Linked DNA regions of Homo sapiens: regions 2, 3, 4, 5, 6 and 7 are each linked to region 1. The links are contacts of gene promoters, found by promoter capture Hi-C in blood cells and fetal thymus (Javierre and others, 2016). All regions are on one chromosome and are shown on one strand. The core of a region is centred on a gene start or on the middle of the fragment in contact, and the rest is flanking DNA. Distances in the headings are between cores, read along the strand shown. Region 1 holds the start of GTF2A1 (general transcription factor IIA subunit 1). Region 2 overlaps HECTD1 (HECT domain E3 ubiquitin protein ligase 1). Region 3 has its middle 9.3 kb from the start of PNN-AS1. Region 4 overlaps MBIP (MAP3K12 binding inhibitory protein 1). Region 5 overlaps SEC23A (SEC23 homolog A, COPII component). Region 6 overlaps TRAPPC6B (trafficking protein particle complex subunit 6B). Region 7 holds the start of CFL2 (cofilin 2).

Region 1 (2,700 bases), core at 18-2,517:
AAAAGGTTATTTATGTGACTGCTTTTTGCAAACCTACGTGATCGCAAGTAACAAAAAGGGACCAACGGGAAGAAGTAGGTAAATTTCAAGGCGAAAGCGGGGACACTTGGACCACTGCAGGCTTTTTTTGTTTGTTTTGGTGCTTCTGCTAGGCGAAGATACGATGGGGGTCTTCCCCTTCGCCATTTTACCCATTCGGAAGGAACTGAGATAAGTGCTTTTCAACCAACCTTCGTCCTTTTTTTAAACATAAAATGGCCTCAGAGAAGGTTCCCAAAGCACAGCCGCCAAAAACAACCTAAGAAACCCCCAAAGTAACCATTAATCTTCCACTGCATTAAAGTGGATCACGATGGGTCTCGGGGGTTCGCCCGATTCCCCACACACAGTTTTTGTTCTGTAGCCACTCGGGGAGCCCTCGTCAAGCCAGCGCGGACGGGCCCCTCGGGGGGAAGCGGCGGCTCCCCTCCCGCCCTCCCTCCCGGCGGCCGGGTTCTGGGGCCGGGGCTGCGCGCCCGACCGGGCCCAACCGCCTCCGCGGCCCGGCCCGGCCCGCGGCGGCCCCAGGCCCCACCGGCGCCCCCGCCCTCCCCGCGCCGCGAGCCCTCGGCGCCCCCCCGCGCCCGCCGCCCGGCGCTCCGGCCCGATCCGCCCGAGGCGGGAAGCGGCGGCGGCGGCGGCCGCGCGGGCGGCTGAAGAGTCGAGGCCGGGAGTCGCCGCCGTCCCCGCCCCCGCCCGGTCCGGCCGTTGCTGCAGCCTGAACGAAGCCCCCGCCGGCCACCGAACCACGTCCTTACCACGGTGTTTGTATTTGCCGAGTTCGCCATTTCCACACACAACACAAACAAGAGGGGGCAACCCCAAGAAAACAAGATAAAAACAAAACCAAAAAAAAAAAAACTATAACACCCGGAGGGTGACCCAAATCACCGCAAGATTGGGGAAAAAATTTTAAACAAAATCAATCCTGAAGGAGTAGGGGAGAGCGGAGAGAGGAGGAGGAGGGGGGCACTCCTCCCGCAGCTGAAAACCTCGAGAATCGCCTTAAAAAAAAAAAAAAAGCCACGACCCTTCAGGGGTCCGGGGGGCGTTGCCCGCTCCCCACCCCGCGCCAAGGAGGGAAACCACCACCGGTCACCGCTCCCTGCGCCGCCGCTGCCGCCACCGGCTGCAGCTCCAGCCGTCCGGTCCGCCCGCTTCTCTCCTTTATATAGCGAGCCAACAAGCTGCGCGAGCCACCACCGCCGCCGCCGCCGCCGCCGAGAGACAGGGTGAAGGGGGAGGGAGGGGCGGAAAGGGCGGGGGCAGAGGTGGGCGGGGCTGAGCGCGAGACACCGCGAGAGCCGCGTGCGCAGGCGCGCCGGGGCGGAGGCCGCCGGCGAGCCGCGTTGTCACGCGCCGTGGCGGGTACTGGACTGGCGGAGCCCGGGGAGTGAAGTAGTGAAATCGGACCTACGCCTCTCCAACGCTCGCGTGATCACGTGGTTGGCACCCAGGCGGAAGTCTGCGGCAGTTCTTTGCGGTGAAGAACTTGCAAAGCGTTGCTGGAAAAGACGGGAGTTCTACTGACACTCCAGTCCAAAGCTAGGTGGGACCGCCTCCTGTCGCACGTTTCCGCCTGGTCCCGCGCTTTAGGAGCTAGGAAATGTGACAGAGGCGGTGCCTACTGCCTCGCTAGGAATGGCCGCGGAGGAGGACTGGTCACGTGGCGTGGCTTCCGGCCTCTGGCGCGTTCCTATTCGGGAAGGTTTTAAATGCGGAGTCATCTCTTGATTTGTCAGCGAGGCTTTGACTGTGAGCTTCGCGGCGTTCGCGCCTCACCGCCTCACCGAGGGTGGGTCTTTCGCGCGCAGAATTGTGTAGGATTTTCCAAAGGGAGTAAAAGCCGATCGGGGCCTACTTTTAACATTCCACAATTAGTAACGTCTGATTCGTTTGTTTCCACAGTGGGTACGCTGCGAAGACTAGGCTTATGTTACCCAGAGGTTAGTCCTCTACTAGGCCACGTACTTTAAATAATTTATCACGCTAGTGGAAATGCGGGGTGGAAGAAAACCCCACCAGCCTTTGGATTGTAACAGCACAGTAACTTTCCCTGGTTTTTAAAAATATTGCCAAAATACTGCGACTCCATGTGGCCAACGTATAGTGACTGATCACTTTGAAATGCATGCCCTTGACCCACCAACTCGCATGGCCTCTCGCTATAAGAGAGCAAGCCGGCTGTGTTCCATGTTCAATTCAATAAGTGCAATTCAATAAGCTTTTGACTTGTTCTGCCCAAGCAAATCCTGCCTTTATATCGACCTTGCAAGCAGAACAGAGAATGCTGTTTGGAAGGCAGAATTCATAGTACCTAGTTTTCTTGTCCCTGGGAATTTTGAGGGACTTGAAATGTCGCGTGGATGAGTGAGGGAGTTTGTCTTCCAGAGACAAAGCAAAACGAAACGTCAAAGTTCTGTGCTGGTGAAACCAGATTTGAAGAATATCAAAGGCGTCTTACCAAAGAGGAAAAAAAATGCATCTTGCCAAGACTTGAAGAAAGGGATTAGAGAAACCAGAGGCCTTGAATACTCAGAAAATGGGAGATTGTGAATGGGTGTAGAGGATATCTATGAACCTTGACATTTCTTTTCACGCCAAGTCCATTCCCCTGTTAACAGTTGCTTCCCAGTTTCCTGCACAGCTGCATGGTCTGGG
Region 2 (2,803 bases), core at 164-2,663, about 50 Mb before region 1:
GAAGCCTATTTAGGAAACTTTAGGATCAATCAGTCTATACAGAACTCCTGTCAGAGTAGTCAACCACACAAGTGAGATTATGAAGAATCTTCAGATGACTCCAAATTAGGCACTGGTTTCCAAAATGCTACCTGTAAAGACATCAGAATCTTTCCCTGATGGAAGCAATAAAAAAAGGTTACATGAGGTTCCAAAGAGAAAGAATTTCCCTGGGAACTGTAATATTTTCTGTATTATAACTACCATATGCTTTTTTCACTTGAACTTGGGCCAAGATTTCAGAAGATTGGCAAAGACATGAAAGAATATAACTGTTTTTAAAAAAAATAAAGGGCATTATCTGTAGTAGAGATATTTTATAAAATAGTCTGTAAATCAGGCACTTCATTTTAAAAAAATGAAATATTTTAACTGAAAAACCTGAACACATCTGGTTTCTTAAAGACAATAAATAACGCAACATCTTTTGATCCATTTCATATTCCATTTTTGCCTCTGCTCCCAGCCTTGACTTTCTTGGTATTGCTGAGCTAAAAATAACTCCTGGTACAGCAGCTGAAAATTGTGGTTTTCCCTTGCAAAGAAAAAGGGGGTAAAGTCCAATTATAAGATGTAAGTTTGCTTTTCTCCAATTAAAATACACATACAAATTTGACTGCAATTCATTCAACACATCTATTGAATGCCTTTCTACACCAAGTGCTATGCTAAGTGTTGGGGGTGGGACACAAAGATGAGTAAGAAAGAGTTCACTGACTCTGAAGAATTCAATCTAATGATACAGTCAAGAACTATGCAAAGTACACTTACAAAGCGTTATAAAACACAATGTCATACCCATAAATAAAAATGATAAAAATCTATCTCTGATAAATTTTCCTTGTATTTTTCCTGTTGAAACTATTAAGAGTGGTTTTTAACTTTTTTTTTTTTTGAGACAAGGTCTCACTCTGTAGCCCAGGCTGCAGCACAGTGGTGCAATTTCGGCTCACTGCAACCTCCGCCTCCCAGGGTCAAGCAATTCTCCTGCCTCAGACTCCCAAGTAGCTGAGATTACAGGCGCATGCCACCAGACCTCTGCTAATTTTTGTATTTTTAGTAGAGATGGGGTTTCACCATATTGGCCAGACTGGTCTCAAACTCGCGACATCAGGTGATCCACCCGCCCTGGCCTCCCATAGTGCTGGGATTACAGGCATGAGCCACCAGTGGAGCCTGGCCTCTACATTTTTTTAGCTGACAGAAACTCTGGTAATCGTCACAAAAGCTCCCTGAATTTAATCACCTATGGACCCCCTGGAGTCCCAGGTAAACCCTCACAGACAGTGTTTCTCATTCCAGCACTTCTCTCTGCTGTCCACTGAAAAGAAGCACATACACAGTTGCTGTCTGTTTACAGGAATTCATTTAACTTTTTTTTTTTTTTTGAGACGGAGTCTCACTCTGTCTCCCAGGCTGGAGTGTGGTAGTGCAATCTGGGCTCACTGCAACCTACACCTCCCGAGTTCAAGCGATTCTCGTGCCTCAGCCTCCTGAGAAGCTGGGATTACAGGAATGTGCCACCACACCCTGCTAATTTTTCTATTTTTAGTAGGGAGGGGGTTTCTTCGCCATGTTGGCCAGGTTGGACTTGTACTCCGGAATTTAAGTCATCCACCTGACTCAGCCTCCCAAAGTATCGGGATTACAAGCATGAGCCACCGTGTTCAGCTCATTTATTTAACTCTTGAGGATTATACATATTTGATATATCAATGAACATTCCTTCTCCAGTAAAGGGTCAGGGCTGATCAACAAAAGTAATTCATTTCCCTATTACTCTGCCATTGGGTAGAAGAAAACAGGTCAATATAGAAAAGGCAGGTACAGGTCGGGCGCAGTGGCTCACACCTGTAATCCCAGCACTTTGGGAGGCCGAGGCGGGAGGATCACGAGGTCAGGAGTTCGAGACCAGCCTGGCCTATATGGTGAAACCCTGTCTCTACTAAAAAATACAAAAATTGGCTGGGCATGGTGGTGTGCGCCTGTAGTCCCAGCTACTCAGAAGGCTAAGGCAGAAGCATTGCTTGAACCCGGGAGGCAGAGGTTACAGTGAGCCGAGATTGCGCCACTGCACTCCAGCCTACACGACAGAGCAAGACTCCGTCTCAAAACAAAAAAAAAAAAAAGAAAGAAAAGGCAGGTATATTAATGGTAGAAAGTAAGGAAAGTACTTATTGATACTGTATCTGCTAAAAAAAAAAACAAAAAAGAATACAATACTCTTCCTCCTGCATACTAACAACAAGTTTCTCAACTCCACAAATACCTTCCATGGGCATTTTAGGCATTAGGTGGAAAACAGGTCCAATATAAGCAATCTCTTCAATTCACTCCTTCAGTATCTGGATATTAGCTATTTGTGTGCCAGGCACTATGCTTAGCAATGGGAAAACAAAGACGAGCTCGTAGTCCAGTGGAGAACTGAAAGTATAGTAAAGTGGAAGTAGTGTATACATGTGAGAATATGCAGGAGGGGTCTTTGAAGACATTTAAATTTGATCCTGTAGGTGAAGAACCCAACAGATTCTGTAAAAGGGAGTAGCACAGGCAAATCAATTTTTAAGACTATAACTCAGGGCCAGGCACCGTGGCTGGTCTCGAACTCCTGACCTCAACTGATCCACCCACCTCGGCCTCCCAAAGTGCTGGGACTGCAGATAGGCATGAGCCACCACGCCCAGTCCCAGCCCTTAACTTTTTACCATCAAACCCAAAACATGTGCATCTAACGTCTCTATCTTCTCTGTTACAACGGCAGTAC
Region 3 (2,700 bases), core at 149-2,648, about 42 Mb before region 1:
CACCACCATTCCCAGTTAATTTTTTATTTTTTGTAGAGACAGGATCTCACTATGTTGCCCAGGCTGGTCTCGAACTCCTGGGCTCAAGCGTTACTCCTGCCTTGGCCTCTGAAAGTGCTGGGATTACAGGCGTGAGCCACCACTCTTGGTCTGTGTTCCAATTTTAGTATGTGCTGCTGAAGTGAGCACAGGAATTTTAATAACAGATTGTACTAACATTTTTAAGTGGTATTCATTTTTAGGTTGGAAGGTTTAATTTTTTAAATATAGTATTTTAGATTTTTTTGTTTCCGATCAGTGCTTTATCCTTGAACTAAAATTTTATGGAACTTAATGTTCAGAGAACCATGGAATTGCACTTGAAGAGACACAAGGAAGAAGAATGTAAAAGTAATGACAGTTTCCCAGGGGGAAAAGACATGCAGTAGTCTTTTTTTTTTTTTTTTTTTTTGAGATGGAGTCTCGTTCTGTCACCCAGGCTGGAGTGCAGTGGTGCGATCTCGGCTCACTGCAACCTCCGCCTCCCAGCTTCATGCAATTCTGCCTCAGCCTTCCAAGTAGCTGGGATTACAGGCGCACACCACCACACCTGGCTAATTTTTTTTTTTTTTTTTTTTTTTGTATTTTTAGTAGAGTTGGGGGTTTCACTGTGTTGGCCAGACTGGTCTCGAACTCCTGACATCGTGATCCGCCTGCCTTGGCCTCCCAAAGTGCTGGGATTACAGGCATGAGCCACGGCGCCCGGCTAACACGCAGTAGTCTTCCTACTGGAGATTACAAATTAGTGTTTATGGTTGAGTGCAGTGGCCTGTAATTCCCAACACTTTGGGAGGCTGAGGTGGAAAGATTGCTTGAGCCCAGGAGCCAGAGACCAACCTCGGCAACATGGCAAAAAACTGTCTACGAAGAGAAAAACTAGCCGATTGTGGTGGCATGAGCCTGAGTCCCAGCTACTCTGGAGGCTGAGACAGGAGGATTGCTTGAGCCCAGGAGGTTGAGGTGAAGTAGCTATGATCACACTACTGCACTCCAGCCTGGGTGACAGAGTGAGACCCTGTCTAAAAAATAACAAAAAAACCCAAATAGTGTTTATGGAAAACTTAGGAGCTGAAAGGGGATAGAGATGGTGAGTTAGGACTGAAATCAGTTTAGAGCTGTATTAGGAAAGACAGGCTGGGTGCTATGGCTCACACCTGTAATCCCAGCAATTTGGGAGGCTGAGGGTAGAGGATGGATGGCTTGAAGCCAGGAGTTCAAGACTGACCTGGGCATCAGCAAGAATCTATCTCTACAAAAAATAGAAAAATTTAGCCATGTGTGTACCTGTAGTTCTAGTTACTTCGGGGGCTGAGGTGGGAGGATTGCTTGAACCCAGGAGTTTGAGGTTATAGTGAGCTTTGATGGCACCACTGCACTCCATACTGGTGACAGACTGTCTAAAAAAAAAATTGGCAGAGATGTCTAAGGGGCTATTAAGGAAACATCTTTTAAGATACCAAGGTTTGGGTAACCACCAAAATAAAGATAGTTTGAACTTCAATGAGCTGTATTTCCAATCTAGGGTCCTTCTACACACTATCTGTAGAATGATAACAATTTACATGATTACTCAGGTAATTTGGGCAAAGCAAAAGCCACCATACCAATAATGTATTGACATAAATTCAAAAGGAAAGAGAGTAGTGATTACATGGGCCAATGCTATTAGAGTCAGTCAAGATGTGGGTTTAAAGTACATAAACAAGAATTTCTTTTATGGCTAATATTGTGTAAGAATTTTTTTATGACTAGTCAAACTTTAAAATATCTTCTGAAATCCAACGACAAATCCAACCCATTTTCCCTTTTTGAGGTTAAAATGAATGTTATTAAATCACATAGCCCAGAAAATGTAGCTATGTATTTGATTCAATACCACTACTCTAGTAAGCCAGTGGGGTAGAGACTACAACTTGGTAAAAATAAACGAGGTATCTGAGAATGTTTTTCTTACGCCTGTCTTTGTCTCAGCTAGCAGGACTTTTTTTTTTTTTTCTTTTTTTAAATAGAGATGAGAGTCTTGCCCTGTTGCCCAGGCTGGTCTCGAATTCCTGAGCTTAAGCGATCCTCCCATTTTGGCCATCCTAAGTGCTAAGATTACAGGTGTGAGCTACCATGTCCAGCCAATCTTTTCAAAAAAGGAACTTAAATAATTATACTAAAAAAAATGATGATACTCAAATGCCTGCAACTCCACTTTCCATGGCCAGTTGACTACCCTATTCAAATTTGTAATAGCTGCCACTCCTTGCCATGACTGTCCCAAAATCTTTGGTGTTGGCCGGGCACGGTGGCTCATGCCTGTAATCCCAGCACTTTGGGAGGCTGAGGCGGGCCCCTGATCATGAGGTCAGGAGATCAAGACCATCCTGGTTAACATGGTGAAAACCCCGTCTCTACTGAAAATATAAAAAATTTAGCCAGGCGTGGTGGTGGGCACCTGTAGTCCCAGCTACTCGGGAGGCTGAGGCAGGAGAATGGCATGAACCCGGGAGGCGGAGCTTGCAGTGAGCCGAGATGGCACCACTGCACTCCAGCCTGGGGGACAGAGCGAGACTCCATCAAAAAAAAAAAAAATCCTTGGTGTTAAGTGGCTTGGTCTCTCTTTCCCACTTTCTTTCCTCTCTTTCAGCACATCCAAATATGTTTGAAACAATGAGC
Region 4 (2,731 bases), core at 143-2,642, about 45 Mb before region 1:
AAAGATGAATCACTGTACAAAGATCAAAAAGATATAAGGTTACCAATAAAAAGATAATATATTGAATAAATACTATGTGACAGAAATTTACTGCCCTTTGAAGATGAGAATGGAAGCATTTAAAAGTCCATATTAGACAAGTATAAAGAGATATGAAATTTCATGTAGGCTGCACTGGCAAAGATTAGAATATATTAAGATTGTACATTAAAGTTAATGCATTAATTTATATTACTTTAATTCCTATAAAGATTTTGTTAGACAACAACCTGTATTATGTATGGAAGTAACCCATTAATGTACTTTCATAGTCTTCAAGGAGATCTATAGTTGATTATAGAAAACTTAAGAATACAGCTTGGGGATAAAGCAGGCAAATCCTCAACCAAAGCAAAGTATCACATTTTCTAGAGAAAATAACTTATAGAAAAATAAGTCTTAATGTTTGGTTCATATTCTCATTTCAATTCAGCAGAATTACATAAGCTTCAAGTGCAATTAAGAATAATTAGTCTTTTAAGAAAACCACATAATGTCACAAATTAATTTTAAAACTGTCCTAATACATCTAACTATTCATTCAACAAATTCATTATTAGTAATATGAACTCTATGCATTTTGCCCTACAGAACTTGGAAGAGTAAACCACTCACTCGAAAATCTCTATTAGTCTGCTATTAATATAGACTATTTAAATATATATTTTCAGTAAAAACTTTACTAAATTAATACAAAAATCCAAGCTAAAAATAAATAATTGTTTAGCTTGGTAAGATGGACCATCCAGAGGCAAGCAAAAAGGTTAAAATTAGTAAATTTTGTGATCTTAAGTAAAAAATTATTTTTAACATTCAGTTTTATGTTTCCTACTGAGGAGATCTAATAATACAACGATACTTAGGGATGACACAGGATGAAGTTAGGCATGTTACAACATACATTCTAAATATCCTTTAAAGTGGTTGCAAAAGAAAATACTGATTTCTCTGGGGGCAATTTTATAAGTATGGAACTCTAATTTTCACTCTTAACACTTCTCAAAATATAGAGTATTATGAAAACAGTTTGTATTTAATTGATGAAACAATCATATTTTTGACACTTGTATAGGAGGTCCCTTCACTGTGTCATGGTAAAGTAACCAAATATTTACTGTGAACATTTTTGACAGGTGACATAAGTAAATTGTAATCACTTCTTTACTTGTACAGTACTTGAATGTTTAAAATTTTCTAATGAGTTTGAAAAATTCAGTATGCAAAATATTTCAAAAGAAATGTTTAAATCATTGCTCAGTATTTTTTAAAAATATTCCATCTTCTGTTAACAGGTGAGAATAAACTTTTTTCATCTTGACATTATAAAATAAATAAACTTAAGTTCCAACGTCGCCATAAAAAGTTCTCTAACTTTTAAACCATTTAAACGTCTTGGGTCTTAAGAATGGAATGTTAATAACAAAACACCCCAAGTCTTTAAAAAATGTTTTTGGTAAGTACTTGGCAAACAACTGAATTTAAAAGTTATATCTTTAAGCAGACTCCATTAATAACTGCGTCATTTCATAAAACCGTTTAACTTACAGTAATGTTCTTTGTAAGACACAACATACTACGATTTTTAAAAATAGTAACTTCTTAAAAGACTGATTCTCCATCTACTCAAGGCTTTAAAAATAATTTTCACAAATCAGACAAATGTTCTATTTTCATAGGAATTTACCATTATCTTTGACACAAATGCCTGCTTTGTCCACTTGCGCTAGTACCAGCCCCAAAACAAACTTTTACGGCTAGAAAATGGTCTATGTAAGATAGAAAATATTTCCTTTTAAAAGGCAGGTAAACAAGCATACTTTTAAATTGTTTCTCATTTAAAACTTGAATTTTACACCATGAAACGAAACAGTGACTTGATCGAAGAAGCCCATTTCAATTTAAAACCAATTTTACTATGACATTTCTGCAAAAGCGATTTATCAGCCAGTTAAACTAGTTAATAGTTAAATAACGACAGTTCTAACGCCAACAGCATTTTACGCTAGAAGTATTTTAAATGAATTCCTTTTACTTTTCTCCCCATTTGAAAGGATTATAGATGCGCAAAACAGCCCGAAGGAAAAAAGAAATAAACAAAACCAAGTAACTCATAAGAACAAATTACTCCCTCCCCCACCAAAAAAAGCTAATAAGCGCGCGCTTTTCTATAAATCTCAGGCCTACTGACCAACCAATTCCCATAAAGAGTAAGTTGGAGGAAAAAGGACCCTGAACGCTAAGCGCCTCCTAAACTCGCAGTGAAGCTTTTCCACATTCATTCTCTCCAAGCCTGCCTCTCTCGGAGCCGGGTTTTCACTTAGGCCAACCTCACCCACTCTTGGGGAGGACAGCTGCAAGGTAAACGACTCTGCAACCGGTACCGCCGTCCTCCTCACTCCGACCGAGGAGGCTGGGCCCGGGCTCCTTCCACACCTCGGCTTCGGGACCGCATCCCACACCTCTGCAGGCCTAGCTGCCCCCGGCCTCTGCTAGAGAAAAAGAATGGCGAGGAGGGACCGGATGGTTTCCATATTCCCAGTCCCTCAGGCCACCTCTCACCTGTCCAACCAGGGTGTGTAGGGAGCGAAAGATTTCGTAGAGCACCTCTCGGGAGAGGTTGGGTCTGCATCTTCGCTCCAGGTTCCTGTCACCGCTGCTCGGGCGATTAAGCTCCGTGGCAGCAGCCATGATA
Region 5 (2,700 bases), core at 72-2,571, about 42 Mb before region 1:
GCCTAGGTAGGATGCCGGCTTTCCTACGTAGGCAACAGCTCTATCTCATGCTCTCAAACTGCAACAGTAGTTAGTCATGGAAGGAAGCTGAAGAATTTAAAGGTGTGGGAGGACAAAGACATTCAAGTGTTATGCAGCAGACAGGAAGGACGTCAAGTTGAAAGAAGTGAACTGTGAACCTAGGGTGCCTGGAAAACCCAACATGGATGTTTAAAGTTGCTAAGAGCAATAGTGGGACAAGAAGCTGATTCTAAAATTTAAGTGAAGAAAGAAGAGATATTATTTGGGGGGAAAAAGTTAGATATAACAATTTTAATTTTAGAAAATCTTTCAAATAAATTTTCATAAAACAAATGGCAGAAAGTGAAGCTTAACAAATCTAAGCATTCCAAGCAGTTAAGAACTTTCTCTTCTTTAAATAAGAAAATAAAAATTAAAGAAAACACTGTATTTCCTCCAATTGTGCCAGAATCTTGGAGACAGCTAGAAAATCTTACGCTAATCAAAAAAGATTGTGGTTTTTCAAAGGTGCATAAAGGGTAAAGAGAAATCCCAAGACTAAACTTGTTTAGAAAAGACTATTTTGGGCCGGGTGCAGTGGCTCAAGCCTGTAATCCCAGCACTTTGGGAGGCTGAGGCAGGTGGATCACCTGAGATCAGGAGTTCAAGACCAGCCTGGTCAACATGGCAAAACCCCGTCTCTACTAAAAACACACAAAAAAATTAGCTGGGCAGGGTGGCATGCACCTGTAATCCCAGCTACTCAGGAGGCTGAGGCAGGAGAATCGCTTGAACTGGGGGGGCAGAGGTTGTGGTGAGCTGAGATTGCACCACTGCACTCCAGCCTGGGCGACAGAACAAGACTCCATCTCAAAAAAAAAAACAAAACTATTTTGAAGGTAAATATAGAAGGCAGCTTTGAGAAGGGTGGTATGAGCTTTCAAGGAAAAGTGTTGAAAGATAATGATAAAACAAAGGTGTGGGATATTCAGAGGAGAGTTAGAAGATGTCAAACTCCACCGTAACATAGGTGGCAATAAAGAAAAAACAACCAGGACGTGGGGGTGAGGGGGAGATTAGAAATCCAGTTTTTAGCAACAGCTTCCATGTTACTGATGTGAATATAAATTCTAAGACTATGCAAACCTCTTCCACATTTATTATACAGAACATAAGGCAAATAAAATTGTGTTTACTACTTAATTGCTCCTATAATTTAAGAAGCATGTACACGCCTACTATGTACCCACAAAAATTAAAAATAAAAAAAATTTTAAGGCCAGGCACAGTGGCTCACGCCTGTAATCCTAGCACTTTGGGAGGCTGAGGCCAGCGGATCGCTTGAGGTAGGAGTTCAAGACCAGCCTGGCCAACATGGTGAAACCCCATCTCTACCAAAAATACAAAAATTAGCTGAGCTGGTGGTGAGTGCCTGTAATCCCAGCTACTCAGGAGGCTAAGGCAGGAGAATCACTTGAACCCGGGAGGTGGAGGTTGCAGTGAGCCGAGATCATGCCACTGCACTCTAGCCTGGGCGACAGAGTGAGACTCCTTCTCAAAAAAAAAAAAAATTTAATAAAATAAAATGAAATCAGAACAGGGATGACTACATTTGACAAAAAATAAGTCATAAGAAATCCAGTGTTATTAAGAAAAAATAAAAATTCTAATGTGCCATAACAAAAAAAAAAAATAAAATGCATCTAAAACACATCTGCAAAAGGCATTAAAATAGCTGAAACACAAAACAAAAAATGTTTTCAATGACTGTTTTCTCAATTCTCCCAAGGATAGTACATAACTAGTACTTAGGTATTACACAGATATTTTCTCAAAAATGTATGAAGTAAACCTATCACTTCATAGAAAACAACTTATAGTATTTTTTGCCAATGATAAAAATTTGAGCTTTCAAGCAAACATTAAATTGTTTTTGGGTTTTTTTTTTTTTTTTTTTTTTTGACACGGAGTCTCACTCTGTCACCAGGCTGGAGTGCAGTGGGGCAATCTCAGCTCACTGCAACCTCTGCCTCCCGGGTTCAAGCGATTCCCCTGCCTCAGCCTCCCAAGTAGCTGGGACTACATGCGCGTGCCACCATACCCAGCTAATTTTTTGTATTTTTAGTAGAGACAGGGTTTCACCATGTTGGCCAGGATGATCTCAATTGTCTGACCTCGTGATCCGCCGGCCTCGGCCTCCCAAAGTGCTGGGATTACATGCTTGAGGCACCGCTCCCCGCCATTAAATTGTTTTAAAACTTGTGCCTGCTACCATAAGCTTGACAAGTTCCTAATATGTAAAGATTTTTCTGATGAGATCAGTGTTGGTATTAATGTAATTTGTTTGATAGTATATAACAAAATGTATTAACATTTAGAAGATATACATTACTCAGTGAAGCAATATCTTCCAAACCGTCAATTTGTGATATGAAAATATCACACATGGGTAGATGATCCATTCAAAGTGTAGAATAGGCCAATGAGTTTTAAGGTAACAAAGTACAAAAAGGTCACTCCTAAGCTTTCAGATTCCACACTGCAATTAACCTTTTAATTTATTAATTAATCCTTCATACAATTCAACCAAAACAATATATCACAATAAACTGCAGAAACAGATATGAAAACCCACCTGTCTTCTATTTAGCCTTTTTTTTTTCTCTTTGGATACTCAATAATGTTTAAGTTAGGGGTTCT
Region 6 (2,811 bases), core at 156-2,655, about 42 Mb before region 1:
ATCACCTAGGAACATATTTATTAGCAGGAACTATTGAAACCACCTTTGCAAAGATTGTAACAGTAAGAAAATCATGACTGTAAAAGAGATCTCACCTAATCAACTCCATCTTGCCTTTAACCTCCAAGCTGCCCTTGGTCATTTCTGGATGCAGCCCAAGCTAACTTTGGGAGAAATTTAGTTTATAGTGTAAGCTTAAAGCAAGAATGATAATAGCCCTTCCCGAAACTAAATCACCTTTGCAAAACTAATGAAAGACTATAAGGTTAGGCTTATGAGAGGGGTCTGAATTCTGCTAAAATGTAGGTAGTTAAATGATAATCAGACATTATTCTGGAAGTCACAGATTTGTAACTTCCCCAATTACTCCTGTAAATAATATCACTATTGTAGAACCTAAAAAAGGCCTTTTGAGATGTCTTTTCAGACTTTTGCATTTCGGATGACTCCAACTGGTCCTCTGGCCCCCACCTCTGTAACTGCATCCCCAACCAACCAGGAGCACCCATTCCCCAGCCCCCAGCCTACCAAACTATCCTTGATAAACCCTAGACTCTGCATGTTTGGGGAGGCTGATTTGAGCAATAATAAAACTCTGCTCTCCCATTTAGCAGCTCTACATAAACTCCTTATTGCAATTCTCCTGTCTTGATAGATCAGCTCTACCTGGGCAGTGGGGAAGAAGAACCCACTGGGCAGTTACAATATGCTTATATGCAGACACTTTCAAATCCTATGATCACATGAGCTTTTGAATTAAGCCCTACTACTTAATTTTGCTACTTGTTCATGCACTTTTGAGTAGGCACCAAATTTTTAAGAAAAATTCAACTTGAGAACATTTTATCCATTAGCCTTTCAAAATCCATTCACCATAAATTGAGAAATGCCCAATTAGTCCATTTTAAGAGAATTCCTCTTTAAGCATAGTTTGAAAAACCTTGATTTGGAGGGTTAGAACACTGTTTCTTTCTTTTATCTCACCTCAAGTCTTATGGAAGTTTATTTTGCTATACTGAAAATTTATAAAACTTTATTTCATTTAAAAAAACTTTCCATAACAAAAACAAAAAAAAAGACACATAATCCTGTCAGCGAGAAATGGATTTTATAGGTCTTTTCAGACATAAACAACATAGTTTTTACAGATCTTTTTATGTCTGAAAAAAATCTCTAAAAATCACCTCTGGATGACAGGATTATGTATCTTTTACATTTTTCATGATGAAAAATTTCAAGCACACTCAAAGTATGGACACTAATGTGAACCCTTATATACCCGTATTTCAGTATGGGTTCTGATTATGAAGACTACCACATAACTGTTATTTATATAATTTTTGCTTATTATGTACTTTCAATTTTCCCCCCCATCATAAATACACTGCAGTAGAAAAAGAAAGTTATTTTTAGCTTAAATGATTCAAAACTATGAACTTCCTTTCTCTTGTATGTTAGTCCATCTCTTAAAATTATCAGGCCTGAGTAGAACAGCTCTGTTCATTTTATTTAGGATTAACCCACGGGAAAAAAAAAAGATATTTTAAAAAGAAGAAAAAATATTATTCTAGACAAGAGTCAGAAAAGGGCCAGGCGCAGTGGCTTACGCTTGTAATCCCAGCACTTTGGGAGGCCAAGGCGGGCAGATCACCTGAGGTCAGAAGTTCAAGAACAGCCTGGTCAACAGGGTGAAACTCCGTCTCTACTAAAAATACAAAAAAATTAGTCAGGCATGGTGGCCGGCACCTGTAATTCCAGATACTCAGGAGGCTGAAGCAGGAGAATCGCTTGAACCCAAGAGGCGGAGGCTGCAGTGAGCTGAGATCACACCACTGCACTCCAGCCTGGGAGACAAGAACAAAACTCCATCTAAAAAAAAAAAAAAAGAGAGAGAGAGAAGAGGAAAGGTAAGAAGGGAGGGGAGAATGAAGAGAACTGAATACGCAAGTGGTTTGGGGGGATCGGGGGTTATGACAAAAAAGTAAAAGGGGTGTGTTAACTGTTCTAGAGGGAAAAGGAAGGCTAGCTTTGCACAAACAGTAAACCTTGAGGTCAATAATAAAGTCAGAAGTTTGTGACTTGAAAAAAATCTCTATTATAGATGGGTCATTTGAATAAGAATAGAATTCGCTTCATTTCCAATAACCTTCCAAATGTATCCTGCCTATCCTTCTTGTGCAAACTGGCAGTACCTTTTTTTGGATGTCATACAGGCACCTCAAAAGTTCAACCTGCCCCGAAATAACTCATTATCTTACCTCCTTATTTTTTTCTTCTCCTTTATTTCCTTTTCTGATTAATAGTACCACCATCCAACCCAGCTGCTCAAGCTGAAAACCTGACGATAATTTTCAACTCCCACTCCCATCCTTAAACAAGGCCTACAGAATTCCACTTTCTAACTTTCAAATCTGTTATCTCCTTTTCTCACTATCCCTGTCTTAATCCAGATCTTCATCTCCTCCTGCAGTGACTCCCGTAATAAAGGATTTTCCCCCTACAAGGATCTTCCCTCTCTAGCCCAAACACTGGATTACTTTTCTAAAATGCAAATGGTCCACATCATTCCCTTCCTTAAAAATATTCCCTCGAAAAGATCCGAATTCTTTAATTACACAAAGCTTTCTAACTTCACCTCTCAATTCTTCTCACTCTCTATTCAGTCTAGTCCAAAGAAATGCTTAAGTGTATTTAAATCCACCACTCTTTCATACCTCTACCACTTTATCTTTGCCTAGGATACATTTCCTATCCCCACTCTCCACTCATTTTTTATCAATAGCATTAAAGAAAGGGCTCCTGACTTGAGCA
Region 7 (2,806 bases), core at 82-2,581, about 47 Mb before region 1:
AAATACTAGGTCTTCTTTCTTAGACTCTTTTGTTTCGTATGTGGCATCGTACAAAGCATATCGGCAATCATTCAGAGGTAGCAACTTCACAAAAGATGTGTAGGGGTCCTCTACAGTATCACCAATGTCACCCACCAAGATCTGCTTTGCTTCCTCTACAATTATTTGTCTTTTGTCATCGCTTAAACAGAAGAGAACTGCTTTCTTTCTCTTTTTGATCTCCTCTTGTGTAGAAGATTTCCTTACTTTCATATCATTAAAAACTTTGATGACTTCATCATTCACTGTAACTCCAGAAGCCTGAAAATAAACACAGAACAGTAATTCAGAACACGTATTTTGGTTTTAACCAAAATTACTGTTTGCCTAGAGAAGACTCACTTTAGTCTGGACATCAAAAATTGCACCGTACCATGTAAGTCGTCCAATCAGATTTGTCACATTTTAAGAATCAGTAGACGATACAGCGAAGGAGTCTAACTCATCCTGCCCATTCATCCTTCTTAAAGGGGTTTGGACGTGGAAGCGAAAGGGACAAATACAAGTTGTCCCATCCCTGAAATGTTTCCTATTTCACTGGGTGATGTCAGAGCTTCAGGAGTGGCAGCAAAAATACCTTCTGTATTGTGTCAACTCGGCTGGCCTTAAAAAAACACTTTTGGATTTCAGTTAATGCTTCTACTATTTTTTTCTTTAAAGTCATCCTAGCCACTGACGTTTCCTCATAAGGAAAGAGAATCAAGTGTAAACTCCAAACCGCCCACGGCCCACACACAGCTCACATGCAGACACTCCAAAACTAACTGATCGAGTGTAAAAGCTTTTACGGCGAGAAAGCATTTTAAAAAGTGTTTTCCCTCTTCCTTAATCTCCCCGTAAGGGTTTTATTACAGGCCGTCCAGACCCTGACCCACACAGCGTTCGCAGCACGTACCAATTTTAAAGCCTCGCGTGTTAAGTAAAATTAGGAAGCGAAGGGCAAAGGCGGCGCGAGCGGCTGCAGTCCGCAGACCCTCTCGCGCCCCCGCCCGCCCGGCCCCGACCCCCAACCTGCGCCGACGCCCGGGCCCTCCCCGCCCCCCAAAATCCAAAGAGCAGCAGGGCAGGGCCTGACGGCCGGAGGGCAGGCCGGTCGGCTGGAGAGCAGCGGAGCCGCAGAGCAGAAGCGCCCACCTTGGAGGCCAAAATCAGGTTAAAATGGCGGCCTCACTCCCGGGGCCGTGCGGGGGGCTTTTCTCGCCTCGCCGCGGCCTCCCGGCCAGCGCGCTCGTCTTACCATAGTGCCCTCGGCTGTGGCTGCGGCGGCAGCTCGGGCTTCGGCTCTGTGGCACTGGGAGGAGAAGGAGGGGCGGGCGAGCGGGTGGGCAGCGGAGAGTGCGGGGCACGCCGGGAGCTGCAGCCCGAGGGAGGTGGCGGGGCTCGGCGGGCCGCAGGCAGCGGGCGGGGCGGTCACGTGGGCACGCCTGGTCCCCAGCCGGCGCCACCCGCTCCCAGGCCGGCCCTTCTGTCTCGCGGCCCCGGCTCCCCGGCTGTCCGCGTCCTCGGCCTGACCTCAGAGCGCGAGCCCTGCAGGCCGGGGGGGGCGACGCGGTGGTAGCGGAGCCCGGGAGCCTGGCAGAGCCGCCTCCAGCCCCCGAGCATCACCCGTCAAGCCGGTGGGAGAGAGTGCTGGGCTCCCAGAGGGGCGTTTCCACCGCCTCCGTAGGGCCCTGCGCCAGGGGTGGGTGCGTGTGAGGGGAACTCCTGCGAAGGTGTCTTTCCTTATTTACCTGTGGTTTTCCCGAAAGAGGCTGGATTTCGACATTTTGAGTCTTTTTGGAAAACCCCCAGTTGTTTAGAGATAAATGAGAATAAATACTACACGAGATTGCTCCAGTTGATAGTACTTAGCAAAAACAAAATGATACGCAGTGTTGGTAAATCACTTTTCAAAACTCTGGTTGAAATAATAATTATGATTAAAAAATTACGTGGTAGCATTCCTTAGTAATATCCTTTTACATTTTAGACTTCATAGGAAATGGATTGTACTCTCTCTTAGAGATTTCATGAAGCTCCAGCTATGACAGCTGATATCAAATAAGCCGACGCAGCCTCTTCTAGCAAAGCCCATATAACTGCGCCAAGGCAGTTTCTCTTTTTTTAATCTTAACTCCTCCATACCTCAGGGTTCTTCATGTGTAAAACAAACTGTTATTAAATTATCGTTAAGGCCCTTTCCAGCTTTAGATTTCAGTTTCTGAGTATATCAATGTTCAGTAGGAAATGGTGTGTTTTTGGTGGTCTCAGGATTGAGGTTAGGCAGGAAAGTCATGAGATGGTGTTTGCCCTAGATTGCGTGATAAGTTCTTTCAGCCCAAATTTACTGTATTTTAAATGGAACATGCTAGGCATTGAAACAGACCTATTTTTCTGTCTATATCTTGGGTTTGTTTTCTTAATTGGAAGATAGACTTCGTTTAGAGACAAAAATTGAGAAGGGATTTCCCAATGTCTAAGCATGAATCCCAAGCAAGTGGATAATACTTTATATCTAGCTGGTACATTACAATTTATGGAACCTTTCACTTTATCTGTTGAACTTCCAAGAAGTCATGGAGAATGTCTCTCCAGAGCTCTGATCATCTGCTATGTGTAGGTATTAGCAAATTCCTGTTCGCTTCATCTTGCGGTTACCTTCCCTTCCCAACCTCAGAGATTTGCAGCAGCCCCAGCAGAGACCAGGTCTGATGACACTGGGGCCTAAAGTGGGTGTCAGAACCTTACCCACCAAAGCTGGGGATTCCAAAGATGCTAGTCACCCCCT

The links. The method cuts DNA at HindIII sites, captures the fragments that hold promoters and counts their contacts. A CHiCAGO score of 5 or more calls a contact.
Region 2: a fragment that was not itself captured here is called in contact with the fragment with the promoter of GTF2A1 in region 1 in 1 of 17 cell types (total CD8 T cells); the score reaches 5.4 in total CD8 T cells.
Region 3: a contact is called between a fragment that was not itself captured here and the fragment with the promoter of GTF2A1 in region 1, in 1 of 17 cell types (activated CD4 T cells). The highest score is 15.6, in activated CD4 T cells.
Region 4: a contact is called between a fragment that was not itself captured here and the fragment with the promoter of GTF2A1 in region 1, in 3 of 17 cell types (naive CD4 T cells, activated CD4 T cells and total CD4 T cells). The highest score is 13.4, in naive CD4 T cells.
Region 5: a contact is called between a fragment that was not itself captured here and the fragment with the promoter of GTF2A1 in region 1, in 1 of 17 cell types (activated CD4 T cells). The highest score is 14.6, in activated CD4 T cells.
Region 6: a fragment that was not itself captured here is called in contact with the fragment with the promoter of GTF2A1 in region 1 in 1 of 17 cell types (total B cells); the score reaches 7.4 in total B cells.
Region 7: the fragment with the promoter of CFL2 here is called in contact with the fragment with the promoter of GTF2A1 in region 1 in 3 of 17 cell types (total B cells, naive B cells and non-activated CD4 T cells); the score reaches 15.9 in total B cells.

The regions. Positions count from the first base shown.
Region 1 is chr14:81,219,692-81,222,391 of GRCh38, forward strand. It overlaps GTF2A1 (general transcription factor IIA subunit 1), which reads right to left and starts at 1,268. Exons shown (of 9, transcript NM_015859.4): 1 at 798-1,268. The coding sequence starts at 827. It overlaps GTF2A1-AS1 (GTF2A1 antisense RNA 1), which reads left to right and starts at 1,527. Exons shown (of 2, transcript NR_135252.1): 1 at 1,527-1,834; 2 at 1,948-2,700. RefSeq lists an enhancer at 1-62 and silencers at 403-522, 1,053-1,102, 1,133-1,432. The HindIII fragment of the contact is 3,079 bases long and covers 1-2,261 here.
Region 2 is chr14:31,194,605-31,197,407 of GRCh38, forward strand. All of the region lies in intron 2 of HECTD1 (HECT domain E3 ubiquitin protein ligase 1), which reads right to left. Among named protein-coding and RNA genes, the nearest start is that of HECTD1, 12 kb to the right of the region's middle. The HindIII fragment of the contact is 3,027 bases long and covers 1-2,803 here.
Region 3 is chr14:39,183,836-39,186,535 of GRCh38, forward strand. No RefSeq gene overlaps it. Among named protein-coding and RNA genes, the nearest start is that of PNN-AS1, 9.3 kb to the left of the region's middle. The HindIII fragment of the contact is 9,645 bases long and covers 1-2,700 here.
Region 4 is chr14:36,317,862-36,320,592 of GRCh38, forward strand. MBIP (MAP3K12 binding inhibitory protein 1) reads right to left here. Exons shown (of 9, transcript NM_016586.3): 1 at 2,599-2,731. The coding sequence starts at 2,727. Among named protein-coding and RNA genes, the nearest start is that of MBIP, 1.4 kb to the right of the region's middle. RefSeq lists an enhancer at 2,465-2,724. The HindIII fragment of the contact is 1,817 bases long and covers 485-2,301 here.
Region 5 is chr14:39,097,217-39,099,916 of GRCh38, forward strand. The region is part of intron 1 of SEC23A (SEC23 homolog A, COPII component); the gene reads right to left. Among named protein-coding and RNA genes, the nearest start is that of SEC23A-AS1, 4.6 kb to the right of the region's middle. The HindIII fragment of the contact is 1,909 bases long and covers 368-2,276 here.
Region 6 is chr14:39,166,345-39,169,155 of GRCh38, forward strand. The region is part of intron 1 of TRAPPC6B (trafficking protein particle complex subunit 6B); the gene reads right to left. Among named protein-coding and RNA genes, the nearest start is that of TRAPPC6B, 2.6 kb to the right of the region's middle. The HindIII fragment of the contact is 2,427 bases long and covers 193-2,619 here.
Region 7 is chr14:34,713,262-34,716,067 of GRCh38, forward strand. It overlaps CFL2 (cofilin 2), which reads right to left and starts at 1,332. Exons shown (of 4, transcript NM_138638.5): 1 at 1,277-1,332; 2 at 1-300. The coding sequence starts at 1,279. RefSeq lists silencers at 1,029-1,088, 1,179-1,768. The HindIII fragment of the contact is 2,283 bases long and covers 819-2,806 here.